3 separate regions of the Homo sapiens genome follow, and regions 2 and 3 are each linked to region 1. Evidence: promoter capture Hi-C in human tissues and cell types (Jung and others, 2019). All regions are on one chromosome and are shown on one strand. The core of a region is centred on a gene start or on the middle of the fragment in contact, and the rest is flanking DNA. Distances in the headings are between cores, read along the strand shown. Region 1 holds the start of TMC2 (transmembrane channel like 2). Region 2 overlaps TMC2 (transmembrane channel like 2). Region 3 overlaps TMC2 (transmembrane channel like 2).

Region 1 (4,671 bases), core at 1,432-3,931:
GAAGCATTGGAATTGATCTAGGTGGCGTGCAAAGAAAAAAGCAAAATACTCTGTGTTCAGTATCTGACTTCCAAACTTGGATTTTTGAATTCCTTAGAAATAATTGTGGAAAGCAGGGTTTGTTGTGAGAGAGAAGAAATCTGCCAATTCCTAGATCACTCCTTCAGACACCAAGGGCTAAACCCAGCCACCAGACAGCAAAAACACATCAGCCCCTGAGGACAAGGGTCTCTGTTTCATTTGCTGATGAATCCCCAGAGCCGAGAACTGACTCTGACCCCAGTGGGTGCTCATTTTTATCTGTGAGGAGAAAAGTGGAGTTATCGACTGTGTGGACAGTCAGGTACAAGGGAATTTGATAGTCCTATCTGGAGGGAATTTCTCTCCGGAGATGAAGGTGTTGTAGAAAGCCTTTCTCCTCTGGCAACAGAGAACAACAAGAGCAGGGTAAAGGCAGGAGGCGGAGCTTGCAGTGAGCCGAGATCGCGCCACTGCACTCCAGCCTGGGCGACAGAGCCAGACGCTGTCTCAAAAAAAAAAAAAAAAAAAAAAAAGAGCAGGGTAAAGGGCTGCTGGGGGTCCTCACTCATCAGGGGAGAGCGCTTGGGGCACCCCCAGCAGAAACCTTACTCACCAGTCCTCTGGGCCACGCTGTCCTGTGGCTGCACAGCTGCCCGTGCTGCTTCTCACATGGACCGGGGTCCTGCACTGGCATGGCCCTGGTGGGGAGAGGGATTTGCGGCTGCAGTCCTGCAGTATGGATGCCAGAGAATGCAACTGAGATCCTCCCACTGCCCTCATGCCCCGGGGACTGGGGCGGCCCTGCAGGAACCAGTTGGGTCGGAGATCAAGGTGTGGGACAAAGAGAAAAGCTTCAAAGCTTGAGATGAACCGTTGCACGTGCATTTTAGAGGTAGCTCCTTTGCCCCTTCCCTCGCCAAGCTTGCATGAGGACAGGCACTCCTACTCCTGACCCCTGAGAAAGTACATGGGCATGATCAGAGGCTAGGTCTGTCCTTGACACCCACAGGAGACTTGCCCTGGGGAAGGCTTTTTATTCTGTTGTGTCATAGAATCCTTTGGCATCCTGGTAAGGTCCGTAGACCCCTTTTTATATTTTTTTTTATTTTTGAGACAGAGTCTCACTCTATCACCCAGGGAGTGCAGTGGTGCAATCTCAGCTCACTGCAACCTCCACCTCCTGGGTCAAGCAATTCTGCCTCAGCCTCCTGAGTAGCTGGGACTACAGACACATCCCACCACGCCCGGCTAATTTTTGCATTTTTAGTAGAGATGGGGTTTCACCATGTTGGCCAGACTGGTCCGGAACTCCCAACCCTAGGTGATCCGTCTGCCTTGGCCTCCCAAAATTCTGGGATTACAGGCGTGAACCACCACGCCCAGCCACAGACCGCTTTTCAGAACATAGACATTAAATCCATAAAATAAAACACTAGGATTACAAAGGAGACCAATGATCCTGAAATAGGCATCAAAATCACTTTAAATATCTTTCATATAATGACAATATATGCTTCCTAATTAAATAACAAGATTTCATGGCAGGTCTCTAACTATCATAATTTTGAAGTTGTGATAACATGTAAGATATTTTGAGACATCCCCAGTGGTTTAATTGGGAAAAAAAATAACTGTGACTTTTGCTGAGACAAAAATCACATCTTTGCTTACATTCATGATTGAGGGAAATGCTAAATCGCAGTTAAGGCTAGGAAAAGTGAAAGTGTAGTATTTTCTCCATCACTATTCACAAACCCACAGAATTCCATCCACAGCTCTGGGGGTTCCAGGGACTCCAGATTAAGAACTCCACACTCTGAGACCTTATGACTGCCTTCCAGAGGGTCCCTCTGACACTTTAGTGATGGTTTTCAAAGCAGCCAAATCTGTGCCTCCCTGAAGCCAGGGAGGAAAAGCTGCTGAGGGAGGGGGCGGGGGCTGAGCGGGAACATTCATCTGTGTGGGCTCAGGACGCCTGCAGCAGGATCCACAGTGCAGGCTCCCAGGGCCTGGCACAGACTGACTGATTCCAACGCCCAGTGCCACTCCTGGGAGTATGCATTTTATTTTTAAAAATTTATTATTATTATTTTTCTTTTTGTGGAGATGGGGTCTCACTACGTTGCACAGGCTGGTCTTGAGCTCTTGGGCTCAAGCAATCCTCCTGCCTCTGCCTTCCTAAGTGCTGAGATTACAGGTGTGAACCACCACATGCCAGAATCTGCATTTTAAACAGAAGCCCAAGTAATAACTTAAACAAACATTCTAGAATTTCCCTGGTGCTTTGTCCCAATCAGGGACTCAAGATAGTGGGAGAGGGCCTGGGATGCTCCTCACACCTCCTCTGGCTAGAGTGCCAGCGGCATCATTGCCAGGAGATAAGCCTGCAGCTCCTGGCCCCTCCAGGGCCCCTCATGTATAACTGATGCCTGAAACATGAGGCCATGCTGCCTCTTTGCAGGGAAACCTGAGAAGAGGAGTGTGTGGCCGGATTGATGGGCCGGGAACTCGTCGCCTTCCTTCACCCGTCTCTCTCCCCCAAACTTCACCCACCTCCACATTCAATCTCAAACCAAGAAGCCCCGCCTGCTGTCAGGTCTAGGAAGGGAGGCCAGCCACCATGAGGGCAGGAAAGCAGCCCAGGCTGAAGGCGTGCATACAGGAGCACGCTGCGTGAGCCTGTGCAGGACCCCAGCAGTGCTGCTGACCATGAGCCACCAGGTAAAGGGCCTGAAAGAGGAAGGTGAGTCCACGTCCTGATCCTGCGGGGCCCGCCCACAGGGTTCCTGGGCAGCAGCAGGGGATGGGGGAAGCACATATGGTGTTCAGAGGCATAGGGAGGAGCTGGGTTTGAGTCCAGGGCCTGTCCCCTGTGCGCTGAGCGACCTCGGCTGGTTATTCAACCTCTCTGATCCTCACGCATGAGATGGGGGTAGTCATCACCTCCTTGCAGGGCTACTGGAAGGATTCAAGACAACCTGTGCACAGCACCTGTGTTCAGGCCAGCACTGGAGACTGTCACGGCCGATGCATGCTCCTCAGAGCCTGCTGGGGCGTCTCAGCCACCTATTGTCTCGGTTAGGGTTGCCTGTTCCGAGCAAGCCCCTCAGCAGATTTCTATCTGTCTCTGTCTCTGTGCAGGGCAGGGGGTGGGGGATGTTCTGACCTCATGACTGACAGTATCAGACAAATGTGACAGGCAGGGGACTCTATAATTTGCTGAGTAAAATCATTGGAGCTGGGTCCCAGTTTGAGGCAGCCACAAATCAGCTGAGGGGTCCCACAGTGACCGGGGGTCTGCAGGGAGGGGGACTCACCAGAGGCCAGCCATTTGTCAGCAATCCTGTCTCTTACAGCACGAGGCGGAGTGAAAGGGCGGGTGAAGAGCGGCTCTCCACACACAGGTGAGATGGGGTGGTGGGGTCTCTGGGGAGCCTGCAGTGCCTGGGTGCCCTCTGCTTAGCCCAACAGTCCAGCCACCCATCCAACATTCTCCTTCATCTCCTTCCCTCTCATTCAACACCCTGCATGGAGCCTTCCTGGGAGGCAAGGTGTTTAACATGGGAGGGGGCAGAGTACCACTCAGAGAAGGTGCTGCTCAGCCCTCGGTGTCAGGGGAGACTCCCAGGGTTAGTGACACTCTGAGCTGAGCCTTGGGAAGCAGTGAACATTCACCAGACAGAGGGCAGGGAAGCTCGGTGCAGGCTTCTGGCGGGTGGTGTGGCCAGATTCACATCCAGGCCCCCGGACTCTAGGAGGAACACTCTTAACCTCCAAAAAGTAGTAGGCATAATGGGTGCTCCATCACCTTCCCACTGGGAATGTGACCACAGCTCTCCCGTGAGCCGGTGAGGGAGCCAACTTGCTCCAGGAGAAGTGGGAGAGCCCAAGGAAGCCATAGGCGGGAGAGAAAACCCTTGGTTGAGACTGAGGGTTCAGGGGAGAGGGGCAGAAGCCACACTCACAGGCTGGGCATCTTCATGTCACAAAATATTATGGATGCGATGCTGTTTTCTCCCCCTTCACGTCCCAGGCAGGGCTGGGTCCTGCGCCCCACACTAGTAGGCAAGAAACCAGAATCTTGGGGAGTGATGGGGTTCTGGGGGGTTGGAAGAGATCTCCTTCCTCCCCCATTCTGGGAGGGAGGGCCCTTTCCACTCCCTCCTGTGGGAGGGCCCTGTCCTGGCCCCACTCTGGCCAGTAGGGAGCTGGCCCCAGGAGCCACTTCATCTGCCCTTTCCGCTCCTGTGACCCGCTGCTGTCTGGTTGTCGGGAGCCTGAGCTTCAGTGAGGCCGCTGTGTTACAAGGGGAGAGACCCAGGAGCAGGAGGCAAGGAAGAGCTGGGCAGAGGCTGGCAGGGGGTGCAGCCATGGCATCTCAACAGCCCTTCCTGGCCCCTATCCCGGAACTTGCCTCAGCCACTGTCCCTTCTTCCTACCCCACCTGCCTGCCTCATCCACTCTTTATCTCAATCCAAAGATGAAGGAGCAAATGTGAGAAAGTTCTATGCCCCAGGGTGGCCAGACGAGAAACCTTCCTCCCGGGGGTCGGGCCACGGTGCTCCCGTAGTGACCACTGCCTGTAGGATGCTCAGGCTGGTTCTCCACACCCCACTCCCCTCGTAGTCATCCAGATGCCGTCCCTTCCGC
Region 2 (4,671 bases), core at 673-3,172, 63 kb after region 1:
TGGGCTCAAGCGATCCTCCTGCCTCAGCCTCCCGAGTAGCTGGGACTACAGGTGCCTGCCACTATGCCCAGCTAATTTTTTTTTTTTTTTGTATTTTTAGTAGAGATGGGGTTTTACCATGTTGGTCAGGCTGGTCTTGAACTGCTGACCTCAAGTGATCTGCCCTCCTGCACCTCCCAAAGTGCTGGGATTACAGACATGAGCCACCACGCCCAGCCTGTCTGTTTCTTAATATGACAGAGTATCCTGGATGCTGAGACCTGGTGCTGCCTGTTTCTACGTGAAACACATTTCTGCTGGAATAAGTGGAAGGACTCATTTGGGGAAAGCATTTCTCAACTTTTTCTGCATACTAGAATCACCTGAGGAGCTTAAAAGATCTCCTGGGATCCACTAACAGAGACTCTGATATAACTGGCCTGGAGTAGGGTCCTGACATTGGTTTTTCAAAAGCTCCCCAAGTGATTAGAATACTCAGAAAGAGCTGAGAACCCTGGTTTGGGGCTGTGGGAATAAAGAAATCAACACTGATGGCTGCGCCAAAATCTCAGAAATCACCACTGAAGAACTTATTCATGTAACCAAACACCACCTGTTCCCCAGAAAGCTAGTGAAATGAAAAAAAAAAAAAAGAATTTGAACTTGGTAGTTGGAAAATAACAAAGAGAGAGAAAGGGAGACAGAGTGAAAGCTTGGTGACAGAAGGCTAGCAATATGGTCTGTGCAGATCAGTCCCACAGGGGCTGAGGTGGGCAAACCTTTGCACGTGTGTAGGATTCTGACTGAGAGGGTTCCTTCACAGACCTTGCCTCTACTTTATTTATTTATTTATTTATTTATTTATTTATTTATTGAGACAGAGTGTCGCTCTGTCACCCAGGGTGGAGTGTAGTGGCAAAATCTCAGCTCACTGCAACCTCCGGCTCCTGGGTTCAAGTGATTCTCCTGCTTCAGCCTCTTGAGTAGCTGGGATTACAGGTGCACATCACCATGCCCGGCTAATTTTTTTGTATTTTTAGTAGAGACATGGTTTCACCAGGCCAGTCTCAAACTCCTGACCTCAAGTGATCTGCCCGCCTCGGCCTCCCAAAGTGCTGGGATTACAAGCATGAGCCACTGTGCCCAGCCCATGTCTCTACTTTAAAATCACCATTTATTTTCTAAACAAGAGTTTTTTTCATGTGAAGTGCTGCTGACAAAGTTTCCATCATTTTCCAGTGAGACTGGGTGTTGTTTATTTATGTGACTGGTATAAAAACAGGCATGGGGGGTTCTGAAAACAAAACAAAACAAATCAAAACACAGTTCCATGAGATAAAAAAAGAGACAGAAAGTTTCCTGTGTGTACATGTCCAAAAAAAAGGTACAACAAAGCAGAAAAACCCTTCTGAGGGTGCATAATAAACAAAGGACTATTTTAGGGTTCTAAGTTGCAGTTGGAGTGTATGTATAATTGAGTGGTTGGGTTTGCATATTTAAAAAATAAAAAGTATTTTTAGTAGAGATGGGGTTTCACCATTTTGGCCAGGCTGATCTTGAACTCCTGACCTCAAATGATCCACCTGCCAATCCCAGCTACTCGGGAGGCTGAGGCAGGAGAATCTCTTGAATCCAAAAGACAGAAGTTGCGGAGAGCCAAGATCGCACCACGGCATTCCAGCCTGAGTGACAGAGTGAGACTCTGGCTCAAAATGAATGAATGAATGGGATAATGTTAAAAAAAAAAAAAAAAAAAAGATGAAATCAACCCTATGTTTCTTTCAATCCACACACAAATAATTTCTTTACAAGAGAGGTTTGAGGAGGTCTACAGAACTATAGCTCATATAAAATAACCATCCAGCTGGGAAGCAAATGAATGAAGGCCAAAGCTGTAATGCTGAAGCATTGTACATTGTACTTTGCCCCCGTGATTGTAAAAACCATTCCAAGTTCTTCGTTTTTTTTTTCTTTAATTACATTTTTTTTTTTTTTTTTTTTTTTGGAGACAAGGTCTCACTCTGGCTGGAGTGCCATGCCCAGTTAAATTTTTCTATTTTTTGTAGAGATGAAGTCTCTCACTATGTTGCCCAGGCTGGTCTCAAATTCCTGGCCTCAAGCCATCCTCCCTCCCTGGCCTCCCAAAGCACTGGGATTACAGGTGTGAGCCACTGCACCCAGCTCCCATTCCAAGTTCTTTATGGCTCAATATTTCTCCTGTCTGATCAGTGAAGCTTTCTTTCCCCCAGGACCTAGCAAAGCTCACATTACACTACAACTGCGCTTCGTTCTCTTTTCTTTGCCCCTCCCCTCTCTTGAATTCCTTCCTGCTGTCCACTGACTGATGCCTGCAGATGGCAGGGACACCCACTAGGAAAAGGGCTTGAGCTCAGCAACTCACAGCATGGGTTTCCCAGCCCTAGAGCCCGGTGGGCTTTGCAGTGCATGGAGCAGGGAGCTGACTCTGTCTCCTCTCCTTCTCCTTCTTACAGCAATGGGGGGCTTATGGCCACTTCCATCCAAAGCCAGGGTAGGGGTGACTGGGGGCTTTGACTTTTCCTCCAGGATTGTGAGAGAGGGACAAAGAAGATCAATGTCTTTGAAACACTTTGAACATGTGAGAAGTAAAATGACTTCTTTTGTAAGTTTATTAAAAGAGACATAATATACTTGTATAACAGAATAGATGTGAAAATTCTGTGAATTAAGACTTTGGGGTCTGGGAGAGCTCATTTTTCATCCTGGTTCTACCAATTACTCTGTGTCTAGGGCACAAGTTTAATAATCAAAAATCAATTTTTATATACTAACAGAAAACAATTCGAAAATAAGTTTAAGGCCAGGCACAGTGGCTCATGCCTGTAATCCCAGCACTTTGGGAGGCTGAGACAGGTGGATCACCTGAGGTCAGGAGTTTGAGATCAGCCTGGACAACATGGGGAAACCCTGCCTCTACTAAAGATACAAAAATTAGCCGGGTGTGGCTGGGTGTGGTGGCTCACGCCTGTAATCCCAGAACTTTGGGACGCTGAGGCGGGCAGATCACGAGGTCAAGAGATCGAGACCATCCTGGCTAATACAGTGAAACCCTGTCTCTACTAAAAATACAAAAAAAATTAGCCGGGCATGGTGGCGGGTGCCTGTAGTTCCAGCTACTTGGGAGGCTGAGGCAGGAGAATGGCGTGAACCTGGGAGGCGGAGCTTGCAGTGAGCCGAGATTGTGCCACTGCACTCCAGGCTGGGTGACAGAGCAAGACTCGGTCTCAAAAAAAAAAAAATTTAGCCGGGTGTGGTGGTGGGCACCTGTAATCCCAGCTACTCAGGAGGCTGAGGCAGGAGAATCACTTGAACTTAGGAGGCGGAGGTTGCAGTGAGCCGAGATCATGCCACTGCACTCCAGCCTAGGCGACGCAGCAAGACTGTCTCAGAAAAAAAAAAAAAAAAAAAGAAAAAAAAGTTTAAGTTCTATTAATAGTATCCAAAAAAAACCCATAAAATTCCTAGACATAAATTTAACCAAAATAATGTACAAGACCATTACACCAAAAGTATAAAATATTGCCGAAAGAAATTAAGAAACCCTAATGGAGAGATATGCTATGCTGATGGATTAGAACAGAGGTTGGCAAACTATGGCCCACAGGCCAAATCCAGCCTGCTGCCTACTTTTACAAATAATGTTTTATCGAAACAAAGGCATTCCAATTTATTTACATCTTGTCTATGGTTGCTTTCATGCCACAATGGCATAGCTGAGTGGTTGTGAGAGAGACCATATGACCAGCAAACCAAAAATACTATCTAGCTTTTTATAGAATGAGTTTGCCAACCCTCGATTAGAAGACTCAATATTTTAAGATTCAGTTGGAATCTATTTGACCTATAGACTTAACATGATCCCAATCAGTTACTGAAATCTCTCTGGGCCTTGGGGTCTGTAATGTGGGTAATAACAGTAACTATTCTACTGGTGTGTTGCTGGGATTAAGAGGGACAATGCAGCCAGGCACAGTGGCTCATGCCTGTAATCCCAGCAGTTTGGGAGGCTGAGGCAGGCAGATCACCTAAGGTCAGGAGATCGAGACCAGCCTGACCAACATGGAGAAACCCCATCTCTACTAAAGATATAAAATTAGCCAGGCGTGGTGGTGCATGCCTGTAATCCCAGCTACTCGGGAGGCTGAGGCAGGAGAATCACTTGAACCCAGGAGGTGGTGAGCCGAGATTGCACCATTGCACCCCAGCCTGAGCAACAAGAGCAAAACTCTGTCTCAAAAAAGAAAAAAAGAGGGACAATGCACGGAAAGTACCACGTCTGACACATGGTGACTATTTAAGAAATCTAAGTGTTTCTTACATGTACTGGAATAGCAATAACAACAAACATATTTTTCTAAAGAAAATAATTATCCATAGGGCACAGGGCATTACATCATCTCCTCTGTATTATTTCATTTCTGGAAATATAGAAAGTACTATTTTCAGGGACCCAACAGCCATGGTTCTGGCATTTCTGGCCTGACATTTATGCACATCTCATTTTCACACATTAAGGAATCAATAGTGGATGAACAAGAGAGTAACAAAGAAGAAAATATCCATCTGACAAGATTTCTTCGTGTCCTGGCCAACTTTCTCATCATCTGCTGTTTGTGTGGAAGTGGGTACCTCATTTACTTTGTGGTTAAGCGA
Region 3 (4,671 bases), core at 884-3,383, 44 kb after region 1:
GTTCCCCCAGGAGAAGAATGTTCAGCTATGGGTTGAGATCTCCTTATCAGTTGCACCACCCCTGCAATTTTGCGACAGTTCCTATCAGAGAGAGGCACTTGGCTGTCTGCCAGACGTGGGTCTGAGAGTAGCCAGAGTTCCTTCTACCTTTGAATTTTTGTTTTAAGTTGAAGAAAGTCATATCAGAGGTTGCTAACTCAATCGGACCCTCCAAATCAGAAATCGTACAGAGAATTTCTCACTTTATCTACAAACTGTCCAAACCAGAAATTTTATCAGCACAGTAAGGGGTGGCCCTCACTTGTCTCTCACTCCAGGCCTGACGTTGGGGAAGTAAAGGTTTGAACACCTGCCTCTGGCAGCCTGGGCTCAAGGACAGCAGGAGCTGGGGACTGCAAGACAGCAGCTTCACCCATGCTGACTCATGCTGACCTGTCGGCCTCCTCGTGCCCCTCATCATGCCCCTTTGTGCTCCAGGTTGACATGTTAAGGAACTGAGAGTTTTACGTCTTTTATTTCAGAAATGGGTCAAATTTAAGAGAGACTTTGATAATTTCAAGACTCAATGTATCCCCTGGGAAATGAAGATCAAGGACATTGAAAGTGAGTATGCTGGTGTCACTGTTTTTTTAATTGGTTTCCTAAAGCGTTTCCCAAGAGCTTGGATTGTTTCCTTGGCCCTCTGAATAGATTATTTCATTGGTTCTGTTGTATTAGGAAAAAAGAATGAGTTTTGAACTTGTCAGGCCAAGATTTATTTTTTATTTATTTATTTATTTATTTATTTATTTATTTATTTATTTTTATTTATTTTTGAGACAGAGTCTCGCTCTGTTGCCCAGGCTGGAGTGCAGTGGTGTGATCTTGGCTCACTGCAACCTTCACCTCCTAGGTTCAAGCGATTCTTCTGTCTCAACCTCCTGAGTAGCTGGGATTACAGGTCTGGGCCACCACACCTGGCTAATTTTTTTGTATATTTAATAGAGACAGGGTTTCATCATGTTGGCCAGGCTGGTCTCGAACTCCTGACCTCAAGTGATCCACCCACCTTAGCCTCCCAAAGTGCTGGGATTACAGACGTGAGCCACCGCACTCATCCCAGACCAAGATTTAAATTCTGCTTTTTCACTTTCTGACTGTGGGCACTTAGGCAAGTTAGTTAACCCCAAAGAGCCTCAGGTTATTTATCCAGGAAAAGAAAGGGAGATCCAGGTGTCATTCAACAGACTGATGTGAAAATTGAATCCACCACACACATAAAGTGCTCAATAGTGTCCATTTTTTCCTTCTGCAGCACTCATACCCACCGTCTTTTCTCTCTCTAGGTCACTTTGGTTCTTCAGTGGCATCGTATTTCATCTTTCTCCGATGGATGTATGGAGTTAACCTTGTCCTTTTTGGCTTAATATTTGGTCTAGTCATAATCCCAGAGGTAAGAAAAGAACTTCCTAAATCTTTGGATAGAGTTAAGGCTTATGACCACCGTCATCAATTATCAACCAAATACTTCCTGTTTTACAAAGAATCAGTCATTCATTTAAAATGCTATTAGGCTGGTGCAAAAGTAATTGTTTTGCATTAAAAGTAATTTTAATTTTTTGCCATTAAAAGTAATTTATAAATTACTGCCATGAAAAGTAAATTTATAAAATTAAAAGTAATGGCAAAAACTACAATTACTTTTGCACCAACCTACGACCTAATGTACTCACATCAATTACCCAGATAGTTAAATACAAAGAATGGAACCAAAATACTTTGTTCCTTAATTAGTAGGTGAATCTTACATTTTTCTACTTCTCATTTTACCTTAAGATCAGTGGAGAATTAATGTTTCAATGAGTTTTTTTCTTTTACTCTCAGAAAAAAGAGAGGGATAGAATACATTATATCATTATTTATCACCAAAAAAACTTGGATTTGACTATCACTCCTCACTATTCTCCCATATATAATTTTTAAGGAGGTTTTTTTTAGAAACAGGGTCTCACTCTGTTGCCCAGGTTGGAGGGCAGTGATGTGATCGTGGTTCAGTGCAGCCTTGAACTCCTGGGCTCAAGTAGCTCTCCCACCTCAGCCTCCCAAAGTGTTGGGATTACAGGCATAACCCACCATACCTGGCCCCAGATATAATCTTATTATGGACATAAATAGATTCTTATCTACAGATGATTAATTGAGAAACAAAAAAGGGGTAATGAGCAATTTGTGCAAAGTCACACAATAAGATCATTGTGAATTGGATCTCAGGTCCCCAGAGTGATGGCTTAGGGTCTTTTCCAAGGAGCCTGTGGCTCACTAAGCACTGAGCACAGCAATTGCTACAATTGCTACAGTCCTGACTGAAATCCTTGATGCTGGTGCTGGGTACACAAGTGGGTCTACTTCAACAGCTTTCAGAGGAACAGTATGTGTGCATTTAGTATTTTCTTCCTCACAGGTGTATTAATTGGTTCTTTGATGACTTACTGACTCCTATTTTGTTATAAATGGTTCTGTGAGCATATTGGAGTCAATTCTATCTGCAGTTACATTTTCTGCACAGCCACTTTCAGGACATTAAAAACCTTTCACATAATGTGAATTAAATCAGATTTATTGGAGGAGGTTGACCATGCATTATAATAGCCTTTGGTAGCAAAGGAGTGTTACATTATTCATAAAATTGTTGAATTCTTTTCTATATTACTCAAAATGTGTGCTTACAAATATGTCATTAACTAGCCTTTGTACTCTTTCATAAACACACCTAGAAATCAAGGGTTCTGAGTCCACTGAGCCCTACATATATTCTTATGCCAATATCACTCTCTGACCCAGAAGTTAGCATTTTAAACGTCACTGTCAAGCGTACACAAACACTCTTACACCAAGTCTGGTTCTCCCCAGGGGGAAAATATTGTCAAAAGCTAATAGGAAGTCTCATTTATCTCCTCCATAGTCAGGTAAATATGAAATGTTTTCCTCGGTAGTCAATGGGGAAATTTACCTTCACAAAGCTCTTGGCTTTCTTCTTGGAAGCTTTTATTCCATGAGAAGAGAGCACATTTAAATGCCACAGGCCTATGAGACATCTCTGAAATTTTGCTGTGCAGTGGTCCATAAAAGGCAGGTTTGGGGGAAGTTGAGCAATTTTAAGGACACTCGGTTGCTTTTTAAAAGAGAACATTAAATTTGGTATAATTTATGTAAGTTTTTAATATTTTTATGAGGGAACATTTATTTTAAACAATAAAAACTTAGTGATTGGTGCATTCCAATGAAGCAGCCAAGATCTGAACCATTCGTGCTAGAGAACCTTGATTTGATTGGCAGGTGATTGGGAAAACCATACTGGAGTGGGTTGAGAGTAAGAGAGAGAGAGAGATGCTTTGCTGGAAAGAGGAGCCTTGGCTTGGGAAGAAGGAGAAGGGAAGAAGGGAAATAGGGGAGAAGGGAAGAGGCTTAGACCAGGTAGCAGCCTGTTGCAGTAGGTCAGTGCTAGATCCGGGTAATATCAATGGGAATGGATTAAAAGAGAGGAATCAGAGTGAAGTGCACGGACAAGTCTTGATGACAGGTTGGATAACAGCAATTAGGGTGTGGGGTGTCTCAAGATGCCTTCTTATTTAGGATGATGGGAAATTGGCCATATGGGAATCAGACACATCCAAATTCATTGCACATCTAAAGGAAGTGTCCTGTTGGTCAAAGACACAGAGAACTTCAGGGCTCAAGGGTTTTCAGCATAAGCTAAGGTTCAGAGATATCCCCACGACCCATGGATGTTTTAAAATGAAGCATAGTGAACCAGAGGGTCCAGGGATAAGAATAGTAGAAGTGCTCAAACATGACTTTTTAAAAAAATTATTTATATATATATAGAGAGAGAGACAGAGCCTCATTCTATCTCCTGGGTTGGAGTGCAGTGGCACAGTCTTGGCTCGCTGCAGCCTCCACCTCCTGGGTTCCAGCAATTCTCGTGCCTCAGCCTCCCAAGTAGCTGGGATTACAGGCACGCACCACCAGACCCGGCTAGTTTTTGTATTTTTAGTAGAGATGGGGTTTCGCCATGTTGGCCAGGCTGGTCTCAAACTCCTGACCTTAAGCGATCTGCTCGCCTCAGCCTCCCAAAGTGTTGGGATTACAGGCATGAGCCACCATCCCTGGCCTTGAACGCAACTTTAACGAAACTTCTCCTTATATTCATTTTCCTTTTGCCACAAACTCTCAATACCACTTTATGAAATTAAACAGCTCTGAATGTAAGAATGAGCCTTGTTTATCTTTAATTGCCATTGCCTGCACAACCCAGGATGTCTACGTGATCCCTGAGGAACCCTCAGTTATGCTGCAGGAGCTGGCTGGCAAGGCCCCACTGGATGACAAGTTTATGTACTTCTCTTCCAACACTGGATGTATGTGAAAATCACCTGGGGGACTTTAAGAACACCAGATCTTAGGCTCACCCCCAGTCAAATAAATTTGACTCTGAGGGTATGGTCTTGTTATCTCTGTTTTAAAAGCTTCTGTGGAAAGCAGATTTCTATGATAACCTCCAATGATCCTTCTCTCCTGGTATTCATGTCCTTATGTAACGCCTCCCTTTGAATATAGGCTAGACCTAGAGACTTGCTTTTAACAAATAGAATATAGAATGGTTAGGTTATGAAAGATAGTGATTTCCATCTT

The links. Contacts are between HindIII fragments. The study calls those that stand out against the background at their distance.
Region 2: a fragment that was not itself captured here is called in contact with the fragment with the promoter of TMC2 in region 1 in 4 of the 25 tissues and cell types used here (H1 embryonic stem cells, pancreas, psoas muscle and 1 more).
Region 3: a fragment that was not itself captured here is called in contact with the fragment with the promoter of TMC2 in region 1 in 1 of the 25 tissues and cell types used here (small bowel).

The regions. Positions count from the first base shown.
Region 1 is chr20:2,533,892-2,538,562 of GRCh38, forward strand. TMC2 (transmembrane channel like 2) reads left to right here and starts at 2,682. Exons shown (of 20, transcript NM_080751.3): 1 at 2,682-2,764; 2 at 3,378-3,425. The coding sequence starts at 2,731. It overlaps LOC105372504 (a long non-coding RNA gene), which reads right to left. Exons shown (of 3, transcript XR_937204.3): 3 at 637-719. The HindIII fragment of the contact is 10,824 bases long and covers 1-4,671 here.
Region 2 is chr20:2,597,580-2,602,250 of GRCh38, forward strand. It overlaps TMC2 (transmembrane channel like 2), which reads left to right. Exons shown (of 20, transcript NM_080751.3): 11 at 4,534-4,671. Among named protein-coding and RNA genes, the nearest start is that of NOP56, 53 kb to the right of the region's middle. The HindIII fragment of the contact is 6,794 bases long and covers 1-4,671 here.
Region 3 is chr20:2,578,625-2,583,295 of GRCh38, forward strand. TMC2 (transmembrane channel like 2) reads left to right here. Exons shown (of 20, transcript NM_080751.3): 6 at 522-603; 7 at 1,326-1,432. Among named protein-coding and RNA genes, the nearest start is that of TMC2, 44 kb to the left of the region's middle. The HindIII fragment of the contact is 3,260 bases long and covers 504-3,763 here.